5 separate regions of the Homo sapiens genome follow, and all the other regions are linked to region 3. Evidence: promoter capture Hi-C in 16 types of primary human blood cells and fetal thymus (Javierre and others, 2016). All regions are on one chromosome and are shown on one strand. The core of a region is centred on a gene start or on the middle of the fragment in contact, and the rest is flanking DNA. Distances in the headings are between cores, read along the strand shown.

The links. Contacts are between HindIII fragments. The CHiCAGO score rates a contact against its expected background, and 5 or more counts as called.
Region 1: a fragment that was not itself captured here is called in contact with the fragment with the promoter of IGSF22-AS1 in region 3 in 3 of 17 cell types (total B cells, naive B cells and non-activated CD4 T cells); the score reaches 9.0 in total B cells.
Region 2: a fragment that was not itself captured here is called in contact with the fragment with the promoter of IGSF22-AS1 in region 3 in 2 of 17 cell types (activated CD4 T cells and total B cells); the score reaches 6.7 in activated CD4 T cells.
Region 4: a contact is called between a fragment that was not itself captured here and the fragment with the promoter of IGSF22-AS1 in region 3, in 1 of 17 cell types (total B cells). The highest score is 5.3, in total B cells.
Region 5: a fragment that was not itself captured here is called in contact with the fragment with the promoter of IGSF22-AS1 in region 3 in 2 of 17 cell types (naive B cells and total B cells); the score reaches 7.6 in naive B cells.

Annotation. Positions count from the first base shown.
Region 1 is chr11:18,148,870-18,151,667 of GRCh38, forward strand. No RefSeq gene overlaps it. Among named protein-coding and RNA genes, the nearest start is that of MRGPRX3, 18 kb to the left of the region's middle. The HindIII fragment of the contact is 1,712 bases long and covers 483-2,194 here.
Region 2 is chr11:18,079,358-18,082,122 of GRCh38, forward strand. SAAL1 (serum amyloid A like 1) reads right to left here. Exons shown (of 12, transcript NM_138421.3): 11 at 2,054-2,146; 12 at 935-1,134. The coding sequence ends at 1,042. Among named protein-coding and RNA genes, the nearest start is that of SAAL1, 25 kb to the right of the region's middle. The HindIII fragment of the contact is 1,393 bases long and covers 799-2,191 here.
Region 3 is chr11:18,705,200-18,707,899 of GRCh38, forward strand. It overlaps IGSF22-AS1 (IGSF22 antisense RNA 1), which reads left to right and starts at 1,282. Exons shown (of 3, transcript NR_186353.1): 1 at 1,282-1,950; 2 at 2,079-2,194. It overlaps IGSF22 (immunoglobulin superfamily member 22), which reads right to left. Exons shown (of 23, transcript NM_173588.4): 20 at 2,605-2,700; 21 at 1,715-2,014; 22 at 618-947. The HindIII fragment of the contact is 1,081 bases long and covers 1,267-2,347 here.
Region 4 is chr11:18,062,827-18,065,653 of GRCh38, forward strand. No RefSeq gene overlaps it. Among named protein-coding and RNA genes, the nearest start is that of TPH1, 18 kb to the left of the region's middle. The HindIII fragment of the contact is 1,620 bases long and covers 514-2,133 here.
Region 5 is chr11:18,131,757-18,134,518 of GRCh38, forward strand. MRGPRX3 (MAS related GPR family member X3) reads left to right here and starts at 815. Exons shown (of 2, transcript NM_001370464.1): 1 at 815-983. The HindIII fragment of the contact is 791 bases long and covers 1,115-1,905 here.

The DNA.
Region 1 (2,798 bases), core at 89-2,588, 560 kb before region 3:
AGCTGTAACTGTAAAGGTGGGAGAGGATGAGGCAGGTGGAGAACCCTGCATCACCATCACACAGCATCACAGGCAGAGAGCCAGAAATCCCAAAATTGCTGTCCTCCTGCCCTCCAGTCTCCTGCTAGTGTCTCCTAGTTGCTCAGTTGAACCAGAAACCAGAAGGAAAAGAATCTCATTTATGAGGTACATAGAAGCCACCATCTTGGAACGCCAAATAGGGTAGAAAAGAAGGGACAAAAAATCCTTAGGGAAAATGAGACTATCTCTCTGACCTTCTTATATCCTCCTACTTTCTGGGGTTTTTCTCAATCTAAATGTCATTGAATCATGTATCATCACAGCTCCATCTATTTTTTTTTTTTCTGTTTCCACCTTCTCTCTCTAGTGTCAATTTTATGGACAAACACCCACATTAATTAAAAATGACTAATTGGAAGATAATTTTTAAGAGAAAATATATTTCTTTTAGTTTGAGTATAAGCTTAGTTGTTCTAATAAAGATATCTTTATTAAATCAAAATATCTTAAACAAGAAAGTACAGTGGATTCTCCATATCCATAGTTTCCACATCCAGGGATTCACCCAATAGCAAATCAAAAATGGTCAGAAAAGGAAAATAAAAAAGGATAGTGACATCTGTACTGAATAGGTACAGACATTTTTATCCTTTCTTCCCTAAAAAATATAACAACTATTTATACAGCATTTAGATGGTCTTAGGTATTATTAGTAAAGTAGAAATCATTTAAAGTATATAGGAGAATGTGGGTAGGTTATATATAAATGCTATGCCATTTTCTATAAGGAAACTGAACATCTGGAGATTGTGGTGCATGCAGGGGTCCAAGAATGAATTGCCTGTAATGCCCAGGAATGAATGTATCTTAGATATAAGTTGGAGGCTTCAAGGCATCATACATTAAGACTCCAAAAACTGCTGCTTCCCAGTCCATAGAGTGGAGTCCTCATTCTTTGTGGTCTTACTGGTTCCCACCCACATCAGCATTCTAGCCTGATGGAAAAAGAAAGAGGGAAAGGGGAGCCTGTACTTCTTCCATTGATCCCACGAGCCCGGACTTCCTTACATCACATCTGCTCACCTTCCACTGACAAGAACCTGGTCTTATGATGTCATCCAGCATCAAGGAAAACTGGGACATGTGTCCTTGTGCTGCTCTTAAATGCTCAGAATTGTTATGTCACTGAAGAGGAGAATGGAGATTGGGGCAACTTGGCAGTCTCTGAAACCCTTGATTATCTCTGAGATTTTTTGCTCACATCAAGGTTTTTCAGGAGCTCCTCAGAAATAATGAATGATGGGGCAGAGAACAGTACATAAGTCTCATACAGGGATGTTGACATGGGGCCTGCTCTTTGTGATATTGGAAAAACAAGTCTGACTCTTGTAGCCTCAACTCCTTCTTATGTCAAATGAGAATAGTACAATAGATAGTCTTTAAGGAACACATGCTGTATTAGTCTGTTCTCACACTGCTATAAATATACTACCTGAGACTGAGTAAGTTACAAAGAAGAGAGATTTAATTGACTCACAGTTCCACATGATTTGGGAGGTCTCAGGAAAATTACAGTCATGAAGGAAGGTGAAAGGGAAGCAAGTCATGCCTTACATGGCAGCAGGAGAGAGAAAGAGAGAGAGAGAGAGAATGGGAAAGTGCCAGACACTGAAACAACCAGAACTCGTAAGAACTCACTTGCTATCATGGGAACAGCAAGGGGGAAATCCTGCCCCATGATCCAATCATGTCCAACCAGCTCCCTCCCTCCACACATGAGGATTACAACTCAAGATGAGATTGGGTAGGGACACAGAGCCAAACCATATCACATGCTAAATGTTGGTGATACTACAGTGAACAAAAACAGGCATGGCTTACTCCCTATGGAGCTTCAGGTTTAATGAGGAAGACAAATGTTTCAAATGTTAAATACGGTATATCAAATATATACCCTAAATATAGATGCACAAACTGTTAAGTGCCCTGAGTGGGGATCACAGTTTTCCTTCCATTTCCCTTTCTGGCCCAAGGCTGTGGCAGCTTGTTTCTCTAAGACAGCTCAGGATGGATGCACTCACTTTTGATATCTCTCTGTACACCTGAGGAAGGATGCATTTTGTTTCCACTTGGATGCTTTCTACGCCTGTGGCTCCTCAGGATTCCAGAGGAAAGCTTGACTTCATGAGGAAGGAAAGGGTCTCTGATTTCCTTATTGTGCTCCTAATTGGTTTCCCTTCACTCTCATTTGTTAGATATTAGGTTGGTTTCTTATTGTCTCCAGAGTTTGCTTACGTTACTTTTTTCAGTCCACAGTTTTGACTACCATCTTGGATTTATATTGGGAATTACAATGTCCTCTGCTTTCCCACACAGTGATGTGTAAGCAACACACAGTGGTGCTGGATCCAAAGGGTTGGCAAAAAAGATAAACTCTGAGGCAGCCCTGCTGGGTTCTAATCCACATCGTGTGAGACTAAGAAATAATTACACATCCTTTATGTCTTCCTTTGTCATCTCCTGTAAAATGGGAATATTACTAATTCTTCTTACTTCCTAGGCTCTTGAAAAGATTAAGAGGGATAATACCTAATAAATACTCAACTGGTTACTGTTATTCACCCAGATGGAAGCTAGTCCTCTTTCTTCAGTTAAAATCTGCATGAGCATGTCTCTTTACATTCCAAGCCCTGAAATTTTTCTGGTTCCCCTCAGGAACTCCTCTGAAACAAAAGTTTGCATTAGCAAAAGAAATTCTACCCAAGATCTGGGAGAGA
Region 2 (2,765 bases), core at 245-2,744, 630 kb before region 3:
TTTAAAGCCAAAAAACTGATATAAATTGGGAAGGGGCTATACCAAAAGTGAGGTTCAGAAAGCTGGCTTTGTTATTCCTAACAGATATTTTCTTAAAAATCTATTAAAAAGCACCCCCCCAACCCAGCCAAACACACATAAAGACTTGGTAGGAAAAAGCCCCTTCTCTTTCTCCCTTTTTCTTCCTGAATGTGGATAAAGGCCCAGAGATGGCACAGCCCCCTTAACCACAAGGCAATAAACATGAACGCAAAGGCCTACCTGGCAGACCACGTGAAGGGTGAAAGGAGCCACCTCATTACATCTGGATTTTTGCATAAGGTTCCTGAAAGAGATCAGATTCAGCTGCTACAGGAGGGTTTCTGTTACTGCAGCTGAATATACTTAACAGTGGATACAAAGACGTAATTCTCACTTAAAAAAATCAAATTAGGCTGGGCACGGTGGCTCACGCCTGTAATCCCAGCACTTTGGGAGGCCAAGGCGGGCAGATCACGAGGTCAGATCGAGACCATCCTGGCTAACACAGTGAAACCCTGTCTCTACTAAAAATACAAAAAATTAGCCAGGCGTGGTGGCGGGCACCTGTGGTCCCAGTTACTCGGGAGGCTGAGGCAGGAGAATGGCATAAACCCAGGAGGCGGAGCTTGCAGTGAGCTGAGATCGCACCACTGCACTTCAGCCTGGGCGACAGAGTGAGACTCTGTCTCAAAACAAACAAACAAACAAACAAAATTAACAGCTATGAAGAAAATCAACACTGATCTCGCACATATCCTAAAAAGAACCTCAATGATAAGCTTACATTTTTGCTTTCCTCAACTGAGGATGATAAATATCACATAAAAAGAGGGGTGACAGTGGTGAAACCTCAGATTCCAAAGTCAAAAAAAGTGAGACAAGTCTAGGACAGAAAAATGTTAACACCAGACAATTATGGTCTAATATGGGCTTTAGTTAATATTTCCAATAAGTCAATTTCAACTGTCAGTGAGAAAAATAAAGTTTATTTCTTGTACAGAAGTAATTCCAATTCAGGTTTTAAGTCTGAACCTTCAAACTTGGGAAGTTTTTTTCCAAGTCATCAGCAAGCGCCTTATCAACTTCACGTAGGATTTTAATAAAATCTTCCACCTGTGAGTCAAACAAACAAACAAAAATCAAACACAGAAGAGAAAAACGTGCTTTAAGGTACTGATTGCTCTACCTGTGGTTTCTAAATGGTCCAATGGAAAAGAAATGCTGGCAGATCTCCAGATGATAGTAACAGTACTTCCTAAGCAGTCTTCTAAATCATTCTCAAGGAAATGACTATGCTTTCCCATTCCGTTTTACTCTTGAGCTAGTACTTCTCCCCCCGCCTCTTCTTTACAGTCTGTTCCCACATTCTGTCCTTCATTTTCCTGAAAAAGTTCCTATTTTGAAATCTGATTCTAATGGTAGGAAATGTGATGTCATTTGAAGAACCATAAAAACCTACTGACTATTCCCAAGAATCTGATTTTGGCTTAATATAGATGTTATCTACTTCATAACAGAAAGGAGTACTATAAATTCAGAGCTTATTTTTTTCCTCTTAGAATTGTTACTCCCAATACTATTATGAATTTTCCAGTAGTCATCTTTTTTTCCCTCAACTTTTATTGTAGACTCAGGGGAGTCTAAATGTGCAGGTTTGTTATAAAGGTATATTACATGATGCCGAGGTTTGAGGCACAGATGAACCTGTTACCCAGGCAGTGAGCTTAGTACCCAATAGGTAGTTTTTCAGCCCTTGCCCTCCCTCTCTCCCTCCCCTCCTCCTGTGGTCCCCAGTGTCTACTGCTCCCATTTGTATGTCCATAGTATCCAATGGTTTAGCTCCTACTTCCAAGTGAGAACATACGGTATTTGGTTTTCTGTTTCCAGCAGTCATCTATCTGACAAAGGCATTAAGTCATATAAATTGTATATACTATCATTTTTGACAATGACCTCGAAATCAAGTGCTTACTTGAAAACATTTAGTAATCCTACAAAACTTGGCCACCTATATACATTTACCCATACTCACCACAGGGCTATAGAAAGGAAGAAGGTTTTGAAATGCAGAGGAACACTTCTGTTTGCTCAACTGGCCTTCCTTTACTCCCTGAGCCACCGTCTCCTAAAACAACAACAAGATTTAATGTCAAAAAAGGAAAATTTTTCAAGCTTTAACTAGTGAATAAAAACAAATCAGGATATTCAATTCCCTCCTGACTTCATAGGCATTTCAAATGTCCCACCTGAACCCACCAACATCAAGGAGGCTTATGTAACCCAAACATGTTCTCCACTGTCGTCTTTACTTTAGTGAAGGGCACCACCATCCACCCTGCTACACAGACTACAAACTTGGAACACAGCCAAGACTTTTCCTTCTCCCCTCCTGCTGACTCCTCCCGGCAAGTGCTCAATTCTATTCTACCAAATCTCTCTTACCCCCATCCCTCCTCTCCATTCAAACTTCCATTGTTTAGGCTGCCATCATTTTTCAGATTATTCTTGAAGATTACCAACCACAAGAGCCTGTTAGTTGATCTCCTGCCCTCCAGCCTCAACTCTCTCTACTCCTTCCTCTCTATTGCTTTTGGAGTAATCTTTCTAAACTGATCGTATCACTTGGTGCTTAAAAGTAAAAAATCTTTAGTAGTTCCTCAGCTTTTTCAAGATGAAGTCTAAATCCCCTAAATATGACATAAGAATTTGCATGACATAGCACTCGTGTATTCTCAGCCCACCTT
Region 3 (2,700 bases), core at 32-2,531:
CTGGGGGAAATTTAAGCAACAGAAAGCAAGGCAGGCCAGCTTTGCATTTAGAGTTCATGCTGCTAGCTGTGTGGCTATGAAGACAGTAGACTGGGAAGGAATAAAATGCTTCCCCCTATGTGTGCACACATGAGTAGAAACATGGCATGCATGTACAAAAGGGAGGGTTCCCTTCGCTCCTTCCCTTGTTTGTGCCCCCCACCGGTCCTTATCCTAGACCAGTTTTAATTTTTATTGCACATCAGAATCACCCGCAAAATTTTGTAAACATATAGGTTATTTCCAGAACCGTGCCAGAGAGATCGTGATTGGTGAGTCTGGTTGAGTCCTGATCACCAGTATCTTTTTTCTGAAGGCAGGTCTAGGCTCACCAAGAGTTGCAAACCACATCTTATCTAGGGATTGAGAACTCTCATGTCTGCAGGGGCCAGGCATATAACAAATGACATCGAAAGGATGGGAGAGTGGTAAGAACTGTGGCCAATTAAGAATGTTTGCACCACCTGTTGGCAGTCAGATTAAAAAACGGTGCCAGCCAAATAGTTGACCAATGGCCCACAAGACCAGCCTTTTGCGCCTCTCCCCCTCCTCGAGGCCGGACCCCGCGGCGCCCTCACCATAGACGGTGAGCGTGCAGCTGCTGCGGTCCTTGCCCAGCTCGTTCTCCACCAGCACGCTGTAATCGCCGCTGTCCTTGAGCGTGCAGGTGGGGATGACGAGGGTGCACACGCCGCTGGTGGAGTTGTACCAGAACTTGGAGTTGGCCGTGATGTTGACGTCGCCCTTGTAGAGGGTCACTGTGGGCCGCGGGTTCCCAAGGAAGGCGCAGGTCATGGTGCAGTCCTGGCCGCGGAGCACCGTGTGTGGCTTGAGGGGCGTCACGAAGCGCGGCGCGTGGCGCCAGTCCTTCTTCTCGTAGGGCTTGAGCTTGGCGCTCAGGTCCTGGACTGCGCGGGCGGGGCGGGGCAGGCCGTGAGGGCGCCCCAAGGCCCCCACCCACCACCCACGTCTTACAGTTCAGCTTACACGGAACCCCGAGGACCTAGGCCACATTCCCAGCGCCACCAACTCTGGGGGCCCAATGTTACACTGGTTCTTAAGGGCTCCCCACCCGCCCCCAGGCCTCCCCCGACCCCCCAGCCCCGTCCCCAGCCACTCCAGGGTTCTGCCACCCAAACCACGCTTTCCCACACCCCTGGGGCCGAGATGTCATTCCAGCGCCAGCTTCCTGGACCCGGTTATTCCCAGCCTTTAACTCCGCCTCCAAGCTTCCCCTACGTCATATCAGCGACCACAGTCTCCCCTCTTATCCCTTTAGCTCCTCAGTTCGAGTTTCCCGACGCGGCCCCCACCCTTAACCCCTAGCCTCCAGGGATCCCAGACATCCTCCCGGCTCCCTAGAGCCCTCCCCTGTTCTCAGCCCCGTTAGACCCTCCCCTCAGAGCAGAACGCGTTTGCGCTCTATGTCCCTCCGCAGCCCCTCCACCGTCCTCTCTGCCCCCAAAGGTACCTCCCCACCTCCACTTTAGTCTCACCCCTAAGTACCCCGAAGAAAGCCAATATTTCCTTCTCTCCGCAGCGTCCCAGATATTAACCGTTCTATCTCAATGGTTTTCAGATTTTATCTTGCCTCTTGGGTACCCTTTGGGACCCTTATGTCATCCCCACCATCAGGGCACCCAGACTTAACCCTAACTGCAAGTCCCAGACTCACTCTGGTCCTTATTGATGAGCCAGGTGTCCCTGGAGTCAAGTGGCTCACTGTCACCGATTTCATTCCGAGCCACCACTCTGAAGTAGTACTTCCTGCCTGGGAGCAGCCCCGTCACTGTGTACTTGTTGCTGAAGACACGCTCGGCTGCCGTGTACCAGGTGGCTGTGCTTGCATCCCGCTTCATGATGATGTAGTGAGCCTCACCGTCCTCCTGCACATCTGGGCTGTGGTTCCAGGTCAGAGTCACTGTGTTGGGGACTTCCTCAAACAACCGTAGGTTTGTGGGGGGCCGAGGGAAATCTGGAAGAGTTGGAAGATCTGTCAGCGACCTTGGGGCACCTGAAGTATTATGTCCCCACCCCAGCCATCTGCCAAGTCCGATGGAAGATAAGATGGGGCAAGTCTCAGGCAGCTGGTGTCTTGGAGTCGGAAAACTATTTCTGAAGTCTGCTCTGCCATTTACTAGCCTCGTGACCTGGGGTAAGTTACTTATCTGAGACTTCTTTCCTCAATTGCAAAATAGAGCTGACAATGACTATTTCGTAGAAATAGTGGGTAAAGAGACTGGCATGTAGTTACTGTTCAGTAAAAATGAATCCATTCCTTCCTTGGGGGTTTAGAGCTTTATTTTAAAGCTTCCAGCTCTCTTTAAGCAGTCACCCCAATTTTTAATGGATTCATCTCCATTTGTCCCTCCTGCCCCTCCACCCATTTCTACTCTCTCTGCCGACCATACTCTGTATGATAAAGTCTTGCTCTGTGGTGTCAAAGAAATCTTCATGGCCCTAAGGCATGACTTTCCTGTGGTAGGAACTCAAGCGGCACTGGGGAGCTGTGCTTTGGAGAGTGTACAGGGATGGGTCTTGGAGGCCTCTGCCTTCTCTCCATACCTGCCACGCGCACATGGATGTCATAGCGTGCTTCTCCAAACTCATTCTGAAGCAAGATTCGGTACACCCCTGAGTCAGAGCGCTTGGTGCTATTAA
Region 4 (2,827 bases), core at 74-2,573, 640 kb before region 3:
TTTAGGTAAAAAGAATAGTTTTGGACATCACAATGTGATTTATGTGTATGGTTAAGAAAGATTAGGGAAATTTTTCTTCAGGGAAAAATTAGGCCCAAGGTAAAAGTTGTGCTTACTATTCTTCAGCTATATATTGTGTGCATGCAGCAAACTAAAGGTTTTTCTGATATCAATCTCTAAAATTTATATAGTGCTTTACATTTTTCAAAGTACTTTTATTTATATTGTTTACTTTGGTCATTAAAGTAACTGAGACTCAGATGGTTCGGTGACTTATCTAAAGTTACACGGCTTGTAAATGGCATAACATGAACTAGAAACCACCTGTTCTGTCTCTCAGCTCTGTGTGGTTTTACTCATCATGCTACCTCTTCTAAGAGGAAACGTGATTTGAACTCCAGTGAATGAATATGTACATGTTTAGCTTAGATTTTATCATTTACTTGAAGGAGATCCCTGTAACAAGCGACAACCATTTTCCAGAAACCACAGTTGCCGTGGGAACGCTCCCTAAGCTTACTTCTGTCTATGGCATTGTAAATATTTGTTCCTTTGTTTCTCTCCTTGGCCATAAACTCTTTCAGGGCAGGAACTGTGCCTTTCACCTCTACGGCAGGATCCAGCACAGTGCCTATTACAGAGAAGGCTGTTAATAAGTAATTATCCAATACATGCTTGTTGAGAAGGAATATATGAATACAAAAATGAAGCTGGGCATGGTGGCGGGCACCTTTAGTCCCAGCTACTTGGAAGGATGAGGCACGAAAATCACTTAAGCCCACGAGGCGGACGTTGCAGTGAGTGGAGATCGTGCCACTGCACTCCAGCCTGGGCAACAGATTGAGACTCCGTCTCAAACACAAAAAGAAAAAAGCAAGTCTATGTGAGATGTGAGAGAAATGCAAGACATGATAATAAAAACAAAATGCTGTCTGTAATCCTTAATCATGAAGGTCAAAGCTCCATTTATGCCTCCACGCGTGTGAAACAGAGGCTGCTTCTTTAAGACCTCAGATGTTAGAAGCCATATGGCATTCTATCCATGTTCAAATTGAAATTAATTTGATGAAGCAAAGGGATGGAGGAGAGAGGTTAGGCCGGGACATAATCTCTTAAGTCCTCAAGATCCAGATCTACTAAATCTCCCTGCAAAAATCATAGTAATCTTCACAACATGACATCTTCAGTGAGCTCTCATATCAGATGACACCCAAATGGCTTTACGGGAAGAGTGGTGCACAAGTCTGTTTACACACAGCATTACACAAATTTCATTCCAAGTCCCCTTCAATTCTCATTACACTTTTTAAAATTACAATTGGAAACCCTGTTTATCACTTGAACTTCTCTGCTTCAACACATTGCCTCATGAAGTGTTGGCTTGTGGCCATTTCAAACACACTGAGCAAAATGGCCCAACAAGTATCGATCACGACAAAGCCTTTCATTTGCTGTGCATTACAGCTTGCCAAAAGTCACACAGTAAGTGGCAGAGGGGGAACAGAACCTAAGGCCTCACTTATCCTTGGAAACATTTTACCTCAATGTACCACAACATTTCAAAAAGTAGATTGAGGAACCCAAAGATATATTTCATTTTTCAGTTCCTTCAGGTTTTTAAGACTTCATTAAGTTTGGGTTCTGAATCATATAGAAACCTCCCAATCCTTTAGTGATAATTATGAAAGCACTCAATACCATCTGGAAGAGCCAAGACATTCTAAGACTAGGACTCGTGATTTACATTAAAGACAGCGTGAATGGTGCCCCCCGGAGTTGTACCATGCAGCATTCCTGCTCAAGTTAATAACGCAAACTGTGCAAAAATGCCATTAATATGGAAACACAGAATGGTCTGAATCATTAGGAAGTGCTGGCTACTCAGATTTTGGAGTGAGGAAAACTATCTTATAGCATGAGAATCAACTGTGCTTGGGGAAATTGGCCCCGTTACTTGGGCACACTTGATTTCCCTCAATGTCTGCTGTCTTAATGTTTGCTTTGTGTTGTTCAAAGAGGCATTATCGCCCTGCTCATACAGTGCCACTAGCCATTTCTCCAACAAGTTAAACAGCATTTGTTGAGGCTGCAGAAAGCAAAGCCAGTACCATTTGTCAAATTAATGACCTCTGAAGCTTTTATGAAAGGGTATGATAAGTCTACATCAGGGGAAATGAGCAAACGTGATGATTAACCTCCCTTCTTTGTTTCTCCAACTGAGCTTAAGGTACTGTGACCGAGCTTTCATGGAAATCAGGAAGATTCTGAGAGAATCCAAATGTGACCATCTGGGAGAGTTAAGAGAAGAAAATACACCATGTGGAGAGACAAGGACTGCCACTCCTGGAGTTCCAAATGGACAGAAGGAGAGAGCTTCCTCGCATCTTTGGGAAAATCCTATCTACATAGCATAAATGCCCCATACTCCACCCTGGAAGAGGCTAATCAGGGGCACCTCCTCATGGGTGCCAGATATTAGAAGATTTTACAGGCTCCATTGCGGCAGAAGGTAATCAAAAAGGCCCAAGCCCCACCCTACAGAGAGCAGCAGCATGACCTTAAACTGCCTTTGCTGGTCACTTGGAGAGGGAGGGTCCATTTTCCTCAGTGGGCAACAAAGCCGCTGATAATCAGGTGCACACATGACGTGGATGTAACCTGCTGAGGAAGTGTCTGATATACCAAAGGAGCCAGGACTCACAACAAGCCTGGCCAGGAAAAAGAAGCCTCAGAGAACCCCAGAGCAGCCTCTACTTTGTAGATGATATGAGTAAATACAACGCAGACAGCCACTTAGCAAGTTCAGAGCCACTTCCAAACGACGCTG
Region 5 (2,762 bases), core at 260-2,759, 570 kb before region 3:
GCAATCTAGATGGAATTGGAGACCCTTATTCTAAGTGGGGTAACTCAGGAATGGAAAACCAAACATCATATGTTCTCACTTACAAGTGGGGACTAAGCTGTGAGGACACGAAGGCATAGAATGATATAATGAACTCTGGGGACTTGAGGGGAAGGATGGAAGAGAGGCGAGGGATAAAAGACTACACATTGGGTACAGTGTACACTGCTCAGGTGATGGGTGCACCAAAATCTCAGAAATTACCACTAAAGAACTTATCCATGGAAGCAAACACCACCTGTTCCCCAAAATCCCAATGAAATAAAAATAATAATAATAAATGATTTAATTTCACAGAATTTAAAAAAGTTCACTGTTCAGAGTTTATAATAATGAAGTAAGAATGAAAAGTGTAGCAAGTGGTAGCCTCTGGACAATGGGACTCTAGATTTTCACCTTGCATACACTTCTCTGGCATTTGGAAAGAAAGTATACACATGAATATATCACCACTATGATAAAGAAAACATCAAAAAATTGTGTCAGGCCATTGTCAGCCTTGAATGGTCCCATGATCTACTTTTTCATTTGGATATAAAGCCTCATAATGATAGTTCACATTGCTTAATGTGATGCCTAGGCCCATAATTGATTTTTAAAATCAGGACAGCAATTACTTACAGGAAGTTGAACAAGATGGGACGTGATAGGAGAGGCTTAAATGTACTGGATATGGGACAGAGGCCAAGAATCATCTCAGTTAGGATTTGTGTCTCAAATACCTCTGGCCTCTGATTTGCCCATAGTCCTCATACAGGAAATAACAAGACTGTCCAGCATCTTCGTAAGCCTGGATTGCTCACCAGCTTTCATTTCAGCTCCTGTAGGCATCTCCTGAATTAAGCAACACAGAAAAGTCCTCTGAAGTCACTGAATCCCATAAAGGCTCTCTACCTTTAGCACAAGGGAGGTCTTCACCACTGGACAAAGAAGGAACGATAAGGGTAAGTACCAAGAACTCTCTTCTTCCACAGTCAGTTATGATTTTTGCTGTAAGATCATGTCCTTATGCTTCCACCTTGGTGCTACATGCAGGGGGTCACGAGCTTGTTTCAGGAAAAGACAGGAGACATGAAGCTTCCTTTCAGAAACTGAGTGCTGTCAACCCAAACTGTGTGAGCTCTAAATGGTGTCCCCCCTTCTAATTTATCTCCCCATATCACCTCCTTCATTCCAATCATTCAATCTGCCCTCATGGAGAGACTGCTGCCTCTTACATTCATTTAACGAGCAAGGGGACATGCAGGCATTTCTTCCCAGAGTTGAACTGCTATAGAGCCAGTTTCTTTGTTTCACTTACTTTTCAAATTTATTCTTCTTTGCCTATCTGGAAAGGTCTAAGGAAGATATAGATGGCCCAATAATTAAGGAGTGTTTCATGAGGAAAGTATTTACAAAGATGCACAGAGTTAAGGGTCAGGATCCTAAGCAGCAATACATAGGGGAGCACTACTTCCTCCCCTAGGCTGAAACGGACAGGGAAGGAGCAGTTACCATTGTCACTATAGCCATAGCTGTAGCCATAAGGGTGGGAGAGCATGAGCAGGCAAGTGGAGAAGCCCTGCGTGGCCAACGCACAGCCACACAGGCTGATATAGTTTGGATCTGTGTTCCCACCAAAATCTCATGTTGATTGTAATTTCCAATGTTGGAGGAAGGGCCTTGTGGGAGATGATTATTAGATCACGGGGATGGTTTTGCATGAATGTTTTAACACCATCCCCCTTTGGTATTGTTGTTGTGATACTGACGAGTTCTCATGAAATCTAGTTGTTTAAAAGCGTGTAGCACCTCCTCCCTCTCTCTTACTCCTGCTCTCACCATGTGAGACGCCTCGCTCCCCCTTTGCCTTTCACCAGGATTGGAAGCTTCCTGAGGCCTCCCCAGAAGCAGAAGCTGCTATGCTTCTTGTACAGTCTGTAGAGCTATTAGCCAGTTAAACCCATTTCCTTCATAAATTTCCCAGTCTCAGGTATTTCTTTTTAGCAATTTGAGAATGAACTAATACACAGACAGAGAGCCAGGAGATGGAAATCCCAAGGTGCTTTCCTGCTGTCTTCCAGTCTCCTGCTGGTGTCTCCCAGTGTCTCAATTCCACCAGAAACCAGAAATAAAAAGAATCCCACTGATGTGGTACATAGAAGCCACTCTCTTGGGATGTCAAACAGGATAAAGAAGAATGGAAAGCAAATCCTCATGGTAAATGAGACTATCCCTCTCACCTTCTTGTATCCTCCTAATTCCTGGGGCTTTCTCTATCTGATTGATCCCTGTCTCATTTCAGCTCTATCAGACTACTTTAATGTTTGGCTTGTCTTTCTCTACTGTCACTTTTATGCAGAAATGTTTGCATTTGTTAAAAATGCATAGAAAATAAAATGTAATTTTAAAAAGAACATATGTATTTTGTTTAGAATATAAGTTTGGCTGATCTAATAAAGACATGAAGAAGAAATATCTTAAACAAGAAAGTATAGTTGTGCCTCTGGGTCACTAGGTTCTGAATCTACAGATTCAACAAACTACAGGAGGAAACTTTTCCAAAAATAAAGGTGTGGCGGAGTTGTGTATGTACTGAACAGGTACAAACTTGTATTTCTTTGTCATTATTTCTGAAAAACTACAATATAACAAGAACTTATATAGCATTTGCATTTTGTCAGTTATTCTAAATAACTTTAAATGATTTAATGTATCTGGGAGAAAGTGCATAGAGTATATAC